Regions from separate parts of the Homo sapiens genome. Here region 2 is linked to region 1. Evidence: promoter capture Hi-C in human tissues and cell types (Jung and others, 2019). All regions are on one chromosome and are shown on one strand. Each heading gives the region's core, a stretch centred on a gene start or on the middle of the fragment in contact. The rest is flanking DNA. Distances are from core to core; before and after follow the strand shown.

Region 1 (3,183 bases), core at 234-2,733:
GAGGAATGAGACCCTGTCTCAAAAAAAAAAAAAAAAAAAAGGTTTAAGTCTCCACTGAGACCAGCCTATCTTCCTCAGCTGAAATAAAATCCACTAAAACAATGTTTTCTAGATCTGTGTCATTCTCTTATACCTATACTATAATACGTTTTTTCCAGATATATGGATCTGTTGGCTATTCTTTCATACTCTCAAAATTCACTTTTTTTTTCTTTTTACAGTTTATTGTTTGGTACAAAACAGGCTCTTTAACTCTTTGAATAAACACCTCACAGACTCGTGCTCCTAGATTACAAAAAGTCAAAGCCAATTTTCTTTGACACTGGGCTCTTGACTCTGAGATTCAAGTCACTATAACAGAAACTGGAGTTGTTTTATCTTATATTCTGGAAGGTGCCTCAACAAAGACATGTTAAGAACTGGTTAAAACTTCTAGCATTTAAAAAGATCCATCTTGTCTTCCAGTGCCTATGGATAATAATAAAAAGGGAATCCCAGAGATCTGCTATTGAATTATTTAGAGAAGAGCTACTGCAATAAGATCCACTCTTTTAAGTTCCAAAAGGAAACTTCAGGCCAGATGTGGTGGCTCACAGGTATAATCACAGTACTTTGGGAGGCCAAGACTGGAAAACCCATTATGCCCAGGAATTTGAATTTGAGACCAGCCTGGCAACACAGTGAGATCCCATCTCTACAATTTTTTTTTTAAACAGAATTTGTGGGGCGCGGTGGCTCGCGCCTGTAGTCCTAGCGACTCGAGAGGCGAGAGGATCGCTTGAGTGCAGGAGTTCGAGGCTGCAGTGAGCTATGATCGAGCCACTGTAGAGAGACCCTGTTTCAAAAGAAAAAACAAAGAGAAAGAAAGAAAAGAAAAAGGAAACTTATAGCCCAGCCAGAGGAGGAAAAACAACACCCAAAATTAGCAAGTGTTCAAGACAGCCCGGCACCCAGCTGAGACTCCCGCTGACGTGATCAGGAGTTCGGGGCTTGCTCTTTTGCCGAGGGTATTTGCTGTCCATGCGTGCCCCGCCCACCTGAGTGCCTCACGCAAGTTCGGTGACCTCTGCCCAGCCGAGAGCAGGGGAGGGTCCCGCGGCCAGGGCCCCGAGCGGCTCACCCTCCACGGCGTGGTTCACCTCTTGGATGAACAGCTGCAGCTTCATCACCAGGGTGGCTGCGTGGCCATCCGCCTTCCCGGACGCCGCCTCCTTGGAGCCGGCCCTGAAGGCCGCATTGATCCACTCCTTCACGTCGAAGTCGTCTGCCAGGAACTTGGAGAAGTCCATGGCGGAACTGCCTCAGGCCTGGCGTCCAGAACTTAAGAGTTGGCTCCGGGCGGCAACGGGGATGCAGAAGCGAGCGAGCCTGCGAGAGCACCGAGGCTAGCCTCCGAGGCGAACCCCAGAAACGCCAGGACGGGTAACTTGCCCCTTTGCGCTTCCCCGCTCAGCGCACTCAGTTTGCGGCTGGGAATGACCCTCGCCGCCCGCCGTTCTTCTTCCGGAAGTCGTTGGCCGTTACCATAGTGACTGCAGGCGTCCGGAGCGCTGAGCAGAGGTGGGTGTGGGAAAACGCCCCGGACTGAGAGCTCCCGGCACCGACAAATATCCCATGTCTGCTAACATTTGCCGAGGACTAAACTATATGCTTACTATAAAGCCCTGACATACATTAGCGCATTTACGCGGTGGCTCGCGCCTGTAATCCCAGCTCTTTAGGAAGCTGACGCGGGAGAATCGCTTGAGGCCAGGAGTTCTAGGACAGCCTGGGCAACAGTGGAGCGCAGTGGGCAGCAATGGAGTGCAATTGAACGATCTCTGCTCACTACAGCCTCAAATTCCTGGGCAATTGAACGATCTCAGCTCACTGCAGCCTCAAATTTCTGGGCTCCAGCGATCCTCCCACCTCAGCCTCCAGAGTAGCTGGGACTACAGGCGCGCGACAACACGCCCGGCTATTTCTTTCTTTTTCTTTCTTTCTTTATTTTTTTCTGAGACGGAGTCTTGCTCTGTCGCCCAGGTTGGAGCGAAGTGACGCGATCTCGGCTCACTGCAACCTCCGCCTCCCAGGTTCAAGCGAGTGTCTTGCCTCAGCCTCCCGAGTAGCTGGGATTACAGGCGCGTGCCACCACGCCCGGCTACTTTTTGTATTATTAGTAGAGATGGGGTTTCACCACGCTGGCCAGGCTGGCCTCAAACTCCCAACCTCAGGTGATCCGCCTGCCTCGGCCTCCCAAAGTGTTGGGATCACAGGCGTGAGTCACCGCGCCTGGCCTAACTAATTATTTTCTTAATGATGTGTTTTGAGGTGCAGACCTTTTAAAGTTTGTTAAGTTCCTTATCACCTTTTTTTATGGATCATGCTTTTGGTGTTGCGGCTGAGAAATCTGTGCATAACCCATAATCACAAACAATTTCTCAGCCTGGGCAACATAGGAAGACCCCGTCTCTGCAAAAAAATTAAAAATTAGCTGAGTGTGGTGGCGCACACCTGTAGTCTCAGCTACTCGAGAGGCTGGGGTGAGAGGATTGCCTGAGCCCAGGAGGTCGAGGCTGCAGTGAGCTGTGATCACGCCACTGCACTCCAGCCTGGGTGACAGAGCGAGACCCTGTCTCGAAAAGAAAAGAAGAAAAGGTAGGGGAAGGTATGAGGGTATTCTTTAGGTTCTAAGTTTTTATGTTGTTTCAAGAGTGGGACCAACCCAAGGGGGAGGACAAGATGTCATCCTTGGAAACCCTACAGGGGACAGTTTTCCAGGTTGGCCTGCCATTGGGGTATGAGTGGCTGGCTGCCATCTCCAGGCCTGATAGTCACTCGTTTTTCATTGGCATCTCCCTTGGTTTGTCTCATTCTTCTGGGTTGAGTAGGTTTTAACTGGGGTAACCCTTCTGCTAGGAGTCCCAGTTATTTGGGGGGAGGGGAGAGGAGGGAAGGAGAGAGGAGGGGAGCAATGCAGGGAGGGGAGACGAGGGGAGCAATCTGATAGTGTAAGTCCTCTTACTTTGCTCTTGTTAAAAATTTAGGCAGGACACAGTGGCTCACGCCTGTAATCCCAGCACTTTGGGAGGCCGAGGCAGGCAGATGATGAGGTCAGGAGTTTGAGACCAGCCTGACCAACATGGTCAAACCCCATCTCTACTAATAATAAAAAAATTAGCTGGGCATGGTGGCACGCGCCTG
Region 2 (3,183 bases), core at 434-2,933, 260 kb before region 1:
GAATCAATGCCATTCAGGAGTGGTATAAGCTACACTACATGAACATCATGGCACAGGTGCCTCTGGAGAAGAAAATCAACATGAGCTATTCTGCTGAGGAGCTGCTGGTGACCTGCTTCTTTGATGGAGTGTCCTGTGATGCCAGGTCAGGAGAGAATGCTGCTCTCTCAGCCTCTAAGGACTGGCAGCTCTGAGTACCAGGCCCCTTGCAGGAACCTACAGCCTTGATGATAGGTCTTGGGAGCAAAAGGTGCTCTTCTCACTGATGCTGCCTTTTGGAAACTGCTTACATGGGAGCTGTGTTCTAGAGTCAGTGAGTGAGGTATACATGACATAAAATCAAAATATCCTTAAACTCATTAAACTACTCATTAAAAACAAGGTAGTTGGCCAGGCATGGTGGTTCACGCCTCTAAATCCCAGCACTTTGGGAGGCTGGGGTGGGTGGATCACTTGAGGCTAGGAGTTCAAGACCAGCCTGGCTAACATAGCGAGACCCCGTCTCTACTAAAAATACAAAACTTAGCCAGGCATGGTGGTGCATGCCTGTAGTCCCAGCTATTCAGGAGACTGAGGCAGAAGAATCGCTTGAACCCGGGAGGCGGAGGTTGCAATAAGCCAAGATTGCACTACTGCACTCAAGCCTGGGCTGCAGAGTGAGACTCTTGTCTCAAAAAAAAAAAAAAAAAAAAAAAAAAAACCCAACCCACAAGGTATTAGATTGGCACAAAAGTAATTGCTGTTTTTGTCATATGGTGTGCCTATAACCTAACCTTGTATATTACCATCATGCATACTGATGACTAAGAACCATCGTTCTAAGGAAGGAAGGAAGAGATGGAGGGAGGGATGGGAGGAGAAAGGCCCATGTTCAAATATGTGAGATTTCAAACCTTTCACCTTTATGATAACACTCAGATCCCTTATAGTGACTGAGCAGTGGGTGAGACATTCTAAAGTGTTCCTGGGCTGGGCACAGTGGCTCACGCTTGTAATGCCAGCACTTTGGGAGGCTGAGGAAGATGATTGCTTGAGCTCAGGAGTTCGAGACCAGCCTGGGCAATGTGGCAAAACCTCCTTTCTACAAAAAAAATTCAAAAACTTATCTGGGCATAATGGCACACACCTGTAGTCCCAGCTACTCAGGAGGCTGAGGTGGGAAGATTGCTTGAGTCTGGGAGGTTGAGGCTGCAGTGAGCCATAATTGCGCCACTGCACTTCAGCCTGGGCAAAAGAGCAAGACCCTATCTCAGAAATAAAAATACAATACAATACAATAAAATAAAACACTAAGCCTCTTTCACCTATCTGTATATGTTAGCAGACAGATTGGTTCTTGTGAAAAGTAAATAACTGGAATCATGTCTCCCTAAGAGTTGGGTTCCAAAGTCATGTAAGGGCACAGATGATGCCCTGGGGATTATTTTCTAGGACTGAGAATTTTAATGGAAAATGTCAAGTGTTGGCTGAGAAATTCAAAAGTGGAGGAATTTGGGGACAGACATGGCACAAAGAATGTCAAGTCAGGATAGAGATGAAGGTGAGAAGATTCCGAGAGAAAACAGAAGGCAGAGAGTCTAGTTCTATGTCCATGTGTGTCAACCAGGATGAGGGGCCTTGTTTGTCATTTGATCAGGAGCAAGATGGGGAAAATGAGTCACATCTCTCACACATTCTCCCCAAAGAGAGTTGGCTCCATTAGCACTGCCCTGCCCAACTTCAGCTAAGATGCATGGGGGAGATCCCTTTCTGACCCATTTTCTTCCTCCATAGGAATTTCACGCTTTTCCACCACCCGATGCATGGGAATTGCTATACTTTCAACAACAGAGAAAATGAGACCATTCTCAGCACCTCCATGGGGGGCAGCGAATATGGTAAGGAAACCTGTGCCAAGGAGATCTTGAGGCCCTCCAATAGTGGACATGGGGGCAGCAGGACAGTGGGGATGCGGGAGCCCTCTGGAAAAGCGGGATCTCTCCCACTTGGCCAGAAACCAGGGATGCCCCTTTTTCTATCAGTGTTTCCATCAGTGTTCATGCTGGTTCCTTCCTTCCAAGTTAGTGTTTGTTTTCCTTTTTGACTTTTCTTCCATCTTTGAGAGAGCGACAGGGACATCACTGGGGTTCCTTCTGCTAGGGAACTACTCTGGTTTAAACTCATAGCTAGGGTGAGTAATGCAGGACAGGTGGTTTCCAAAGGGAGTTGAGCCCAGATATGCTGAACAGATTAGGGAAGTAGACGCACATTTATCTTAGTTCAGGTGACAGATTCTGGACGGAGCCGAAACCCAGCTTGGCCACTCACTGTGTGACCTTGGGCAAGTTACTGCGCTTCGTCTATAAAGCGGGACTAATAATAGTATCTCCCATGTGAGATTACTGACAGGACTTAAGATACAGACTTAGAATAAGACCTGCTCTGCACTCTGTTAGTCTGCTTGGACCGCCATAACAAAATACCAGAGACTGGGTGCCTTGGACAGTAGACATTTATTTATCACAGTTTTGGAGACTAGAAAGTCTAAGATCAAGGCACAGGCAGACTCGGTTCTGGTGAGGCTTCTCTCTTTGGGTTGCAGAAGGCTGGCTGTCTTCTCTCCATGTCCTCAGATGGCCTTTCCTCTGTGGTGTGTCAACAGAGAGAGGCCTGTGATGTCTCTTCCTCTTCTGATCAGGACATCAATCCTATCAGATTAGAGCCCCCTGCTTGTGACTTCCTTTCACCTTAATTAAAGTCCTATCTCAAAATAATATCCCTTTGGGGGTTAGGGCTTCAACATATGAATTTGAGGCAGAAAACAATTCAGCCATAACACATACCAAGCACACAATAAGTGCTAGTTGCTATTGTTATTACTGCTATTATTACCGTTACTAGCATTGCTACCAGTCTACCACCATTGCTGCTGCTGCTACTACCCTCAAAATAATACCACTGCAATTTCCAGCACTACTATTCCACTATGATTACATTTCTAGGGAAGGTAGGAACTGAACAGATTGGCCTGGCTTATGCCCAAAAGGAATTCTTGAAAGGTCCCATGCAAATTGAAAATGATGTGATATGTAGATATACTCGCACCAGGACAAGGGAGGGCCTGTCATAAAGGAAATCCACACTTGGAATCCTGGCCTTTGTCCCTGTGTAGTCTGTGCTCTTACTAAGTCTGCAAGAAATCAT

The links. Contacts are between HindIII fragments. The study calls those that stand out against the background at their distance.
Region 2: a contact is called between a fragment that was not itself captured here and the fragment with the promoter of COG7 in region 1, in 1 of the 25 tissues and cell types used here (lymphoblastoid cells).

What each region holds. Positions count from the first base shown.
Region 1 is chr16:23,451,706-23,454,888 of GRCh38, forward strand. COG7 (component of oligomeric golgi complex 7) reads right to left here and starts at 1,484. Exons shown (of 17, transcript NM_153603.4): 1 at 1,121-1,484. The coding sequence starts at 1,289. LOC124903667 (a long non-coding RNA gene) reads left to right here and starts at 1,038. Exons shown (of 2, transcript XR_007065030.1): 1 at 1,038-1,560. RefSeq lists enhancers at 1,144-1,473, 1,764-1,813. The HindIII fragment of the contact is 22,477 bases long and covers 1-3,183 here.
Region 2 is chr16:23,192,398-23,195,580 of GRCh38, forward strand. It overlaps SCNN1G (sodium channel epithelial 1 subunit gamma), which reads left to right. Exons shown (of 13, transcript NM_001039.4): 4 at 1-145; 5 at 1,774-1,877. Among named protein-coding and RNA genes, the nearest start is that of SCNN1G, 11 kb to the left of the region's middle. The HindIII fragment of the contact is 5,798 bases long and covers 1-3,183 here.